Linked DNA regions of Homo sapiens: region 1 is linked to region 2. Evidence: promoter capture Hi-C in human tissues and cell types (Jung and others, 2019). All regions are on one chromosome and are shown on one strand. The core of a region is centred on a gene start or on the middle of the fragment in contact, and the rest is flanking DNA. Distances in the headings are between cores, read along the strand shown.

The links. Contacts are between HindIII fragments. The study calls those that stand out against the background at their distance.
Region 1: a contact is called between a fragment that was not itself captured here and the fragment with the promoter of LHX3 in region 2, in 2 of the 25 tissues and cell types used here (IMR-90 fibroblasts and lymphoblastoid cells).

The regions. Positions count from the first base shown.
Region 1 is chr9:136,266,419-136,272,300 of GRCh38, forward strand. CCDC187 (coiled-coil domain containing 187) reads right to left here. Exons shown (of 26, transcript NM_001378188.1): 15 at 1,631-1,707; 16 at 966-1,093. Among named protein-coding and RNA genes, the nearest start is that of QSOX2, 24 kb to the left of the region's middle. RefSeq lists silencers at 819-978, 1,043-1,418 and an enhancer at 1,219-1,288. The HindIII fragment of the contact is 6,359 bases long and covers 1-5,428 here.
Region 2 is chr9:136,200,974-136,206,819 of GRCh38, forward strand. It overlaps LHX3 (LIM homeobox 3), which reads right to left and starts at 4,155. Exons shown (of 6, transcript NM_178138.6): 1 at 3,961-4,155. The coding sequence starts at 4,039. It overlaps QSOX2 (quiescin sulfhydryl oxidase 2), which reads right to left. Exons shown (of 12, transcript NM_181701.4): 12 at 5,360-5,846. The HindIII fragment of the contact is 12,211 bases long and covers 1-5,846 here.

The sequences.
Region 1 (5,882 bases), core at 999-3,498, 64 kb after region 2:
CCCGCTCAGACACCGGGTGAGGATGTTAACTGGAATCACCTTTCTGGAGACCAATGTGGCAGTATCAAGCGGCTTCCAGATGCATTCTCACTGACCCGGTCATTCCATTTCTAAGGTTTTACCTTAAGGAAATGATCTCTCTATCTTCATTAATAATGGCAAAACGTTGGAGACAACCTAGAGGCCCGGAGATCCGGGACAAGCGAAGGGAGTTACAGCCCTGTCTCTACGCCGGTGCGCCCTGTGTGTTATAGCGGTTATGTAGCTACACAGAAAGGTTTTCCTGACATATAAATTGAAAACGCAAGTTACAAAACAGCACGTACTGCCCATTTGCAAGTTGAAATAGCCATGTGTGTTTCTCCCCAAAACAGAGTATCCGCACTGGGCGTGGTGGCTCTCGCCTGTAATCCCAGCACTTTGAGAGGCCGTGGCTGGCGGATCAACTGAGGTAGGGAGTTCGAGACCAGCCTGACCAACATGGAGAAACCCCATCTCTACTAAAAATACAAAATTAGCTGGGCGTGGTGGCGCACACCTGTAGTCCCAGCTACTCGGGAGACTGAGGCAGGAGAATCCCTTGAACCTGGGAGGCGGAGGTTGCAGTGAGCCTAGATCGCGCCACGCGCCTCTACACTCCAGCCTGAGCAACAAGAGCGAAACTCTGTCTCAAAACAAAACAAAACAAAACAAAAAAACAAAGTATGCACAAAGATGATCTCAGAGGTCACCTTTGGAACGATGGGGGTATTTTTTTATTTGTGTATTGAGTACTTTACTGCCTTATGTAAGTTTCAGCAAACACCTATTACTGTTTGGACCAGTACCTCTTGTTTCTCAAAACGCTGTCGGGGCCACGGGCGGGACCCGGACGGGGCAGGGAGGGGGCGGGGCTACAGCAGGGCGGGGCTACAGCAGGGCGGGGCTACGGCGGGGCGGGGCCGGCGCCAGGCGCATGCGCTCACCCTCGTCGATGCTCCAGCCAGGCCAGCTCCGCGAGCGTTTTCTCCTGGAGCGCCATCTCTCGCAGGCGCAGCAGCGCGGCCTGGTGCTGTGCTCGCAGCTCCTCCTCCCGCAGGCTCCGCTCCAGCATCTGCAGCTTGAAGCGGCCCAAGGCCCCTAAAGCTCTGGGTTCGGTGCTTCCGGGCCTCGCGGGGCTCCAGTAGGGTGGGCCGCGTCACCGCCTAGCTTCTAGACCGCTCCCAGCACAGGCCACCGCCTCCGAGAAGCCCTCTCGGACTGCCCGCCCCTCCCATCCCCCTATGCCGCCCTCGCTTCCCCGACTGTGAGCTGGCGGGGCAGGCAGGATCTTTAGCATCTCGGCCTCACCACCAGCCCTGATCCAGGAAGCCCAGGCCACCTGCCCTAAAATATACAACCTGGGCGGGGGCTAACCCTGCCCAAAGCACCATGTTGAAATGCCTGCCCCCCTCTGTCACCCAGGGCGGGAGGAACGGGCTTGGGTAGCTGTCAGCTGGAAGAGCGGGTGACGCGATCGCCGGAAGAACCTCCCAACCCAGGACCTGCCTTGGCCCTTCTTAGTGGAAGGACAGTTGGGTCCGGGGCCCACTACCAGGGCCGTGCTGGGTCCTGAAATTGTGCCTCTCCCCCAGGGGACCTCTCCACGTACCTGGTGGGTGGGGTTGTCCGGAGGGAAGAACTTGGCCAGGGGAAGCTGGGAGAGGGCTCCGTCAGGGCCCTCCACCTCTGAGGAAGGAAGCGCCATGGTTGGGTCATGTAGGGGGTCTGAGTGCCCCGTGTCAGGGGCCATTTCTACCGGAGGGCCTCATAAAAGTAGGAGGTCTAGGGCAGTTTAGTGTCCCCATCCCATCCCGGACACACAGGGCTTCACGCAGAATCCACAAGACCACGCGGGAAGGGACAGGCAGTCTCTTGATGTGAAGTTGTGGTTTGTGACCCTACTGATCATGGGAAAGACCAGACCAAAAGTAGAGGAAGCTCAGGGAGACAGCCCAGCTGCTCTGCGTCTACAGGCTTCTAAAGGAGGGGAGAGTGAGGCCCAGAGAGGGAGAAGGGCTGTCGGGGTCTAGCACCAAGGAGCTGGCAGGTGACAGCAGATCCCAGATCCCCAGCTGAAGTAGCTGACCTGCTGCCGACCTCTGCTGGCCATGCTTCTGTTCTGAGTGATGGAAAAAGGAGCCTGTACTTCAAGCGATCCTTAAGGACGTTCCCTCCCACCAAAGACAGAGCAAAAGGGACTGGATTTTGGCTTTGCCATCCCATCTGCAACAACTGAAAAAATCACGTAAATACACACACACATGTGTGTTTATATAGAGATATGTGTGTGTATACATATATATATATTTTTTCACACACACATATGAAATAACAGTTTTCCAGGCACTGGACTTGAGGCAACATAGCACAGTGATCCCTGAGAGACAGAAAACAAAGGAGGGGAGGAGACTTGCGATGCTCACGGCTTACTGCCTCAGAGAGTTGCCAGGCTATGGTGAGGGAGGGGAAGCTGGCTGAGCTGGAGGACTCCCTGGGTAGAGGAGACAGCAGAGAGTCTGGGAGGACCAAGGCAGCTGGAGTTTGTGGGGGCAGAGTGTCAGAGAGGAGAGAGTCGCACAGAGAGAGGACCTCTGAGATGTATCAAGTGTCCCTCTGGAGTATTCAGTAGAGAACTGATGGATGAATGCGTGTCAAGAAGCTACCAGATGCTGGGACAGAAGCGTTCCGGGGGACTGGAAGCCTGGTAATGACGCCTGTTTCCAGTAGTCAGGCTGGAGGACCTTAGGACTCCCAGGTCACTGGGCAGGCAGTGTACACAGAACGTTCTTGCCTTGACTGTCGGAAATGATTAGCCCCAGGCTGAGCACTGATCCAGATCGACCTAACACACTATTAATGAAAAGTCTGAAAGGACCAAATTACTTCTAAATAACTGCAGTCCCGAAGAAAGCTTAAGAATGTTTATAGGGGCCAGTGCGGTGGCTCACGCCTGTAATCCCAGCACTTTGGGAGGCCAAGGTGGGTGGATCACGAGGTCAGGAGATGGAGACCATCCTGGCTAACATGGTGAAACCCCGTCTCTACTAAAATACAAAAAATTAGCTGGGCGTGGTGGTGGGCGCCTGTAGTCCCAGGTACTCGGGAGGCTGAGGCAGGGGAATTGCTTGAACCTGGGTGGTAGAGGTTGCAGTGAGCTGAGATTGCGCCACTGCACTCCAGCCTGGCAACAGAGTGAGACTGTCTCAAAAGGAAAAATTAAAAAAAAGGAATGTTTACAAGAATACAAAAATATCTAGCACTCAGCAAGGTAAAATTCACAGGGCCCAGAAGATATGCAAAGAAACCAGAAAAACACAACCAGTAATGAGCAGGATAATTTATTAACAGTATCCCAGGCTTGACGTGGGTGTGAGAATTGGCAGAGAAGGACATTAGAAGTTTCGTAACTCTATCGCATATGTTAAGATGTTAAGTAGAGCCACAGAGGATATAAAACGAAAAGATCCAAATGGAATGTGTAAACTGATGAAAATTAAATCACTTGAGATGAAAAACACACTGGATGGGATGAAGGGCAGACTAGACACTGCAGAAGGAGAGATGAACGAACTGGAAGATATAGCAATAGAAACTATCCAAAAGGAAACAGAGAAGAAAAAAGAATAAAAGAATACAAAGAGCTTCAGTAAGCTCACAACTTCAAGTGGCCTAATGTATGCGTAATTGTGTAAGCTCCAGCCCTACGGGGCTTAGCAGGTGTTCTCCCCATGTGCGGAGATGAGAGATCGTAAGAAATAAAGACACAAGGCAAAGAGAGAAAGAGAAAACAGCTGGGCCCGGGGGACCACTACCATCAAGAAGCGGAGACAGGTAGTGGCCCCCAATGGCTGGGCACGCTCATATTTATTGTATACAAGACAACGGGGCAGGGTAAGGAGTCTTAATCACTGAGTCGTCCAAGTGATTAAAAAGGTCAAGCAAGTCACGTGATCATAGGACAGGGGGCCCTTCCCTTTTAGGTAGCCGAAGCAGAGAGGGAAGGCAGCATACATCAGCGTTTTCTTCTGTGTACTATAAGAAAGATCAGAGACTTTAAGACTTCCACTATTTCTTCTTCTGCTATCTACTACGAACTTTAAAGAGGAACCAGGAGTATGGGAGGAACATGAAAGTAGACAAGGAGGGTGACCACTGAAGCACCACAGGGAGGGGTTTAGGCCTCCGGATGACTGGGGGCAAGCCTGGATAATATCTAACCTCCCACAAGAAGCTGGTGGAGCAGAGCGTTCCCTGACTCCTCCAAGGAAAGGAGACTCCCTTTCATGGTCAGCTAAGTAACGGGTGCCTTCCCAGACACTGGCATTACCGCTTGACCAAGGAGCCCTCAAGCGGCCCTTATGCGGGTGTGACAGAGGCCTCACCTCTTACCTTCCAGGTCACTTCTCACAATGTCCCTTCAGACCTGATGCTATACCCACCGGTTATCCCTAGGTTATATTTGTAATGCAACAAAGAGTAATATTAAAAGCTAAATGATTAATAATGTTTATCCTAATGATTGATAATTGTCCATGATCATCTCTATATCTAATTTGTAATATAACTATTCTTGTTCTAACTATTTTCTTTATTATACTGAAACAGTTTGTGCCTTCAGTCTCTTGCCTCGGCACCTGGGTAATCTTCTGCCCACATAATTGGAGTCCCTGAAGGAGAGGTGAGAGAAAGAGGAGCAAAAAGATATTTGAACAAATAGTGGCTGAACTATTTCCAAATTTGAAGAAAATGAAAAATCCACAGGTCGAAGAATCTCAACAAACCCAGAGGACAAGAAATATGGTCTGGGCGTGGTGGCTCCTGCCTATAATCCCAGCACTTTGGGAGGCTGAAGTGGGCAAATCACCTCAGGTCAGGAGTTCAAGACCAGCCTGGCCAACATGGTGAAATCCTGTCTCTACAAAAATACAAAAATTAGCCGGGTGTGGTGGTGGGTGCCTGTAATCCCAGCTACTTGGGAGGCTGAGGCAGGAGAATCGCTTGAACCTGAGACGCAGAGGTTGCAGTGAGCCGAGATTGTGCCATTGCACTCCAGCTTGGGCAACAGAGCGAGACTCTGTCTCAAAAAATAAAAATTAAAAAATGAAGAATAACAATAACAAAGGACATCATAATAAAATTGCTCAAAACCAGTAACAAAGAGAAAGTCTTTTTTTTTTTTTTTTTTTGAGACGGAGTCTCACTCTGTCAGCCAGGCTGGAGTGCGGTGGCGCGATCTCGGCTCACTGCAAGCTCCGCCTCCTGGGTTCACGCCATTCTCCTGCCTCAGCCTCCCGAGTAGCTGGGACTACAGGCACCCGCCACCGCATCTGGCTAATTTTTTGTATTTTTAGTAGAGATGGGGTTTCACCATGTTAGCCAGGATGGTCTTGATCTCCTGACCTCGTGATCCACCTGCCTGGGCCTCCCACAGTGCTGGGATTCCAGGTGTGAGCCACCACGCCTGGCTGAGAAAGTCAAAAGCAGCCAGAGAAACAAAGACACGGTGATGTACTGACGAACCAAGAAGAATGGCAATCAATTTCTTGTCACAAATAATGCAAGCAAGAAGACAATGGAGCAATGTCTTCAAAGTACTGAAAGGGAAAAACTGCACCTAGAATTCTATGTCCAGGAAAGAGTACGTCAAAAACAGAGATGAGATGAAGGTGTCCTTAGACATCCAAAAGCTAAAGACACCAGCAGACACGCACCACCAGAAATGCTAAGGGAAATCCTTCCAGCAGAAGGAAAAGGATGCGGGTTAGAAATCTACATCTACCGGAAGCAATGGAGAGCACCAGAAATGGTAAAATGACGACTATGTGCAGATGTAAATATAAACACATATATTATTTAAAACT
Region 2 (5,846 bases), core at 2,905-5,404:
CTGACATCGGTCTAAAAATGTGTGTGAGCAAGAAAGCAGCCCAGGCCATTTCACGAGGCTGAATACTCAATTACAAAATGTTGCCAGTGCCAAGAAGGGTGCATGTGGAGCTCAAATGAAAACCCCACCCCAGGGGGATCTGCTCTCTGAAGCCCGGCAGGAAACATAGGGAAACGGGTCTTCACCATCACCTGGAGCTGGGGCACCCCATCGGGTCTCCTTCATGTTAAGCGTCATGGCCACTCTTTCTAGGGACTCCTCGCAAATGTGGCTGCCCTGCCTGGTGGCCCTGTCTGCAGGCCTCCGGGGTAAATATCAATGCCTTCCCCATCATTGGGCAGCCGCAAAATTACTTATGAGTGGACTGGACAAGCCGATCCACTGCCTTTGTGTCAGGCGTGGGTGCCCCCAACACCGTCAGAGTTACTCAAACGTCTGGCTTCCCGCTGCTTCTGCCCCCCACACCCCACTTCGGTACTGCAGGCCCCCTGGAGGAACCACACTGGGGAGGTCCAAGGGTGCCCTGTGGGAGCCTCGAGTCTGTGAGCGGGTTTTCCAGGTGTCAAGGGCTGAGGACTCCCTCTTCACTTAGAAAAAGTCTCTGGAAGAGAGGAGTGCCCGCTGAAGGGACCGGGATTTACTGACATATTGCACCCGCCTCCCTGGCTGTGGACCCCGCCGGCTCCAGCCCATCTCCCAGTGGGTGAGAGACACCAGGAAGGGGCTCCCTCGACCTCCGGCGGAAAAAACTGGGCTGCGCCTCCCCACGCAGTGGCGGGAAACCGGCGATGAATGCGCCCCGCATCCGGCAAAACCGCAGCTCCGGGTGCGGAGCGTCGAGGACCCGCTGCGCGCCCGGGGTCCCCATCGTGGGCAGCGATCGCAGGCGAGGACCCGGCTCGGAGCGGGGCGGCCCGACAGGCCGACACAGCGCGGATTCAGCACCGCGGACCGGACAGCGCCTCGGCCGCAGCTCGCCGCCGGCGCCCGCGTCGGGCAAAAGCCGCCCCAGCCCACCCCGCGCCGCGCCCGCGACCCCAGCCTTACGCTGCATGGCGACTCCAGCCCTGGCGGGGGCTCCTGTGTCAGGGATGGCGGGGTCGGCGGAGCCTGGACGCCAGCCCGCCCGCTCCGGCCAGCTCTCCCGAGCGCGGGCGCGCAGTCCTCCTTCCTCCCTCCCTCTCTCCGCCCCCCAGCCCCCGCGGCCAACCCCTCCCAGGAACCGTCGAAAAATAAATAAATAAGTAGGGAACCGCGAGCCCCCACAGCCTGGATGTAACCCCCTTCCCGCCGGCCGGTCCCTCTCACTCCCCACTGGCTCCGGGGCCTCCTTCCCCATCCTGCGGCTCCAGCTGGCCCGGGAGTCGAGGAGAACTGCCCAGGTTCCCTAAGAACCAAAGTGCTGGGAGCTAGAGTGGTGCCACCAGGAAGCTGGGGGGCCTGGAGAAGAGAGGCTTTTTCCTACAGACGGGCCCTGAGCGGGGATAAACCGAGCGGGTGTCTGTGGGCGCAGACGCTGAAACCTGACTTCGGGGAGACCGACGGTCGGAGTTCAGCTCGACCTTGGCCCCTGCATCTGACTCTGTTCCGCTGGAACGTGGAAAGAGTCCGGCTGGGGCGGCCTTCTTGGGGACCCTCCTGTCCCGTGGTCACTGCCCCGCCACTGCTCCCTGCGCCTCCTCCAGCCCAGGGAGCTGGCTCCGGGCTGCAGAGGTCTCCTAAGCCCACCCTGGACCCCCGAGAGCTCCCTGGCCGGAGCAGCGCAGTGCCACAACCTCACTCACTCCCTGACAACCCAGGCCAGGGGCCCTGCAACAAATACAGGCTGAGGCGCCCAGGCGCGGACGTTCCGGGGTCCTCGCGCCCACTCCCGCCCAGATCCTCTAGCTCCTGCCAGCCTCCGCGGCCAGGCCCGGAAAGGCCTGAGGATCTCCTGGTCTCCCCGGTGCAGCCACTCGGCCCGGGCACCCACCTCGGCGCAGGTCCGCCCTCCGCGCCAGCAGTGCTAGCAGCAGGTCGCCTCCCGCCGACTCCCGGGCCGGGCCCAGCTCCCCGCGCGCCTCCATGGGTCCCGCCGCCCGGCGTCGCCACTCTCCAGTCCCGAACTTTCCCGGGCCCAGCGACGCCACCCCGCAATAGCCCCGAACCGGCGTCCAAGCGACTCCGGGTGCTGCTGGGCGCTGCGCCCGCGGGCCGCCCTGGGGCCCGGAGCCTCTGGCCGAGCGGAGGGCGGAGCGGCCGGGGGGCGGGGCCGCGGGGCGGGGCGGGGCCGGGGGTCGCGGAGACCAGCCCGGGCCACTGCGGACTCTGAGCGCCTTTGCGCCGGGACCTGCGGTGCCCAGAGGCCGCCCCGCGTGCCCGGCCCGAGGGCGGGCACCGGTAAGGGAGGGCCCAGGTCAGGGCTTCCCGCCAGCGTTCGTCCCGGCCCCGCAGCTTCCTGCGCCGGAGCGGCCCAGAGGCAGAGGCCTGAGCTGGAGCACACGCCAGGAGGGCTAAGGTTCCCGGGAGAGGGGTCGAGAAGGCAGCAGGGTCCTCCCGCCGCTGAGGTTTGGCCTCGGGAGCAGCAGATGGTCGGCGGGAGCTCAACCCGAAACGCAGAAGGGGTGAGTGTGGCGCCGAGGGCTGCGTACCGGAACCGCAAGGTGCCGGACCGATCCCAGATGCTAACAGGCTTCTGGGCTCCACCCCTGGAACTGCGGCCCCGGACGGCTCAGGGAGGAAGGGCAATCCTTGAGAGAGAACAGGCTCTGTGTCCTGGACACGCAGCCAAGACCTCGGGTCGTGAGGGGCCGAGCTGGGGAAGCCCCAGGGCACACCTTCCATTTCCAGCCCCCAGCACTCCGGCTCCATTGGAACACGGTCCCTTACCTGATATTTCAGCCTCTTGCCCCAGTCCACACAGGTGAGCTCTCCAGAACCCACCTGTCCTTGCAGGCAGAGGGACGCACCCACCCCTGCCCAGAGGGCCCTGGGCCAGCACCAGCCCTGGGCAGCCACCCGGGGAAGAACACAGCAGTGGGTGGCCCTCGGCAGCACAGGACTTGGCAAAGGCAGGGGTGCCCTGGCAGTGCGCAGAAACACACAGGAAGGGTTGGGGGACCAGGGGCTGATGCCATCCTGCAGGTCCCTCTCCCTGTGGGTCTCACAGCAATACTCTGTCCACTCTGCCTATGGCTTCTGGACTGTGAGCTTTAAGGGCCCAGGCCCAGAAGGATGGGCACAAGAAACCACAGTCCCTCCCTCCTAGCTCCCAGCAGGTCCGATGTGTCCGTTTTGAGCAGTGGCCCATGCAGCCAGCTTTCTGCCCCTTCACTTTGCACAGCACTTGTTACCCAAGAAGGGCCAGGGCAAGGACACGCGGGTGCAAAGCCGAGTGTGTGCGGGCTGTGCTGGGTGCAGGTGGCTGAGTGTCAGCTGCTGCCGAAGCGATCAGGGGTCGTGTGTGGCAGGACTGGGGAAGGGGCGGCGGCAGGTTAAGGAGGCGGCCCACCCTGCTGGCATCTGGCCAGCCCTCCAACAATGCCTCCATTATTTCCCAGCGTCCGTGGTGATGGAATGGCCCTTGGGGAGGGTGGTTCAGGCGGGAGACACAGGCTTGGGTCCCCTGCTGTGGGGTCCAGAGACCTGGGCCGGGCTGTGTGCAAGAGCTGACGGGCACTGGTCACCGGGGGAACCTAGCACCCCTTGGTCGGCCCCATCGCCCCCCAGCTGTGCCTGCGATGCCCCCTTTTTTTCTAGGGGCCTCCACTCCAACCGCTGTCCCGCACTCTTGCAGGCCAGCGTCAGGCCCTCCCCGCCACCCTGGGATCTGGAAACTCACTCTCTGCAGTTTCCATCTCTGTGTCCCGCCTGCAGAGCGGCGGGACTTTCTTTGCCTGGCCGCTGGCCCTGCACGCACCCCCTTCCTCGCGCCTCTGCCGCCCTTGCCGTTTCTGTCCTCAGTGTCCTGCTGGGGCTTACCCCGAGTCCCGCCCAAGGTGCAGACGGCGGCGGCCCCGGGCCTCGCTCGGTCGCGCTCGAGCCCCGTTTCCAGCAGCATCGCGGCCACCAGGCCGAGTGGCGCGAGACGCGCTCCTCCTAGGTCAGCGTCCCCTGGAGGGTTCGGGGCTCCCAAGTCCCGCCGCGTCGTGCGGGGCAGGGAGCCCGGGAGCCACTGGGCCTGGCGCTGTCCGCGGTGCTGAAGGAGGCGCCCGCTGCCCGCCCCGCCCGCGCGCCCGCCCACCTCCCGGGGCCCCTCTCGTCGCCCCGGTCCCCACCCCCGCCTCTGCCCCGTGTCGGGCGCGCCTCCCTCCCTGGCTGGGTTGGGCCGCACTCAAGGCAGCCCCCGCCCTCACCCCTCTGAGACCCAGGGTGGCCGTGCCCGCTCCTCCCTAAGCTCCAGGCCCTGCTGAGGCGCTGGGATTCGCCGAGTTTCGCAGCAAGCGGGTCGTCCAGCCGCAGGGCAGGAGGACACTGACCCTACCCTTCTGGCGTGCAGCCTCTGGAAGGCAGTGCCCAGGCCGTGCCCCGGGGCAGCCCCATGCGTGATCAACTCCAGCCCAGGGCTCACTGGGGCACTCTCCTGCAGGTGTTTTGCTGGTCAGGGAACTTTCCACTCTTAACCTCCTTGAACTCAACCCCCAACTTCTGGGAGGAGCTCAGCCCGCACCCCTCCGGGCTGCCAGGAGGAGAGGCACCTGCAGTCCCCTGTAACAAAAGCACTGCTGAGGACTCAAGACCTTGGGCATAGGCAGGGCCTGAAGGAATCGCCCAGTACACACCCAGGCTGGTGTCTGCTCGGTGCCTGACGAGTGACTGAGTTACTGCCAGCCTCTGCACAGCCTGGCCAGGGAGGTGCCAACCGGCTTCCTCCACAGCCACAGGCAAGACTGTTGACCACTGCCCTGCCCCCACTGGCACAGCAAAAGTAGGGGAGGGGCAGAAGACAACACGGGGTCAAGGGCACCCCACAGAACACCACAAACAGCCTTAGCAGGACACTCACACCCAGGAAGCAGAGGGATGGCCACTCAAGCAAGCTGGGGGTCCTCTGAGGTGCCCTCAGGCTGGGCTGCCGCGCGTGCTCTTTGAAGTGTGTAGCTGACATGCATCTCAGCTGCCCTTTAACCTGTGTAAAATCAAGGGTCTTGTCCTGTGAGTCTCGTCCAGATCAGCTCCAGGGAGATGATCTATCACTGCTTTCCATCTTCTACTTTCCATCCGACCCTTGGGCTGTGTCCCAAAAGCCAATGATTCGATAGGAGAAACTCTAGGATTTCAGATGTCCAGTACGTGAACAAAAGAGGGGTCCATTCTGCACCCACCGCCTCTACCACAACTCCCACTGGTAGAGCTGGTTCACATTTCAAAAGAATCACCATTTTTTCAAATGTCAGATTTCTTTATTAAAATGTGCACATTATAGTTTACTTAAATACAAAATGTTCACTTTCCTTGCAGGTAAGAAATTTCACTGACATTTCCATGTCAATTAGCTTCTTTTTAATAAAAATCCTTCCACTGAAAATAAATAAGCATTTAAATTACTGAACTATTATATTCATTAGTCTCAATACCTCTTAAAATACTTAAAACTTTAGAAAATAGACTCTAAACATTGCCTAAAGGTGGCATCCAGCTCTGAGCAGGCCACACAAGGTGTGTCTGAGTATGGCCATATGACTCCTGGGGCCACCTCCACGACGGCCCAGCCCCACCGACGCTCTGCTGAAAATCCTGCCCCTCAGCAGGACGCAAGCTTGTTCCCCAAATAGTGGTGACCTCAAACTGCAATATGATGAAACCTGCAGCCAACACTGCCCTCCACAAGGGTTTCTGGAAAGGCTGAAGCTGGAGACGGTAAACCA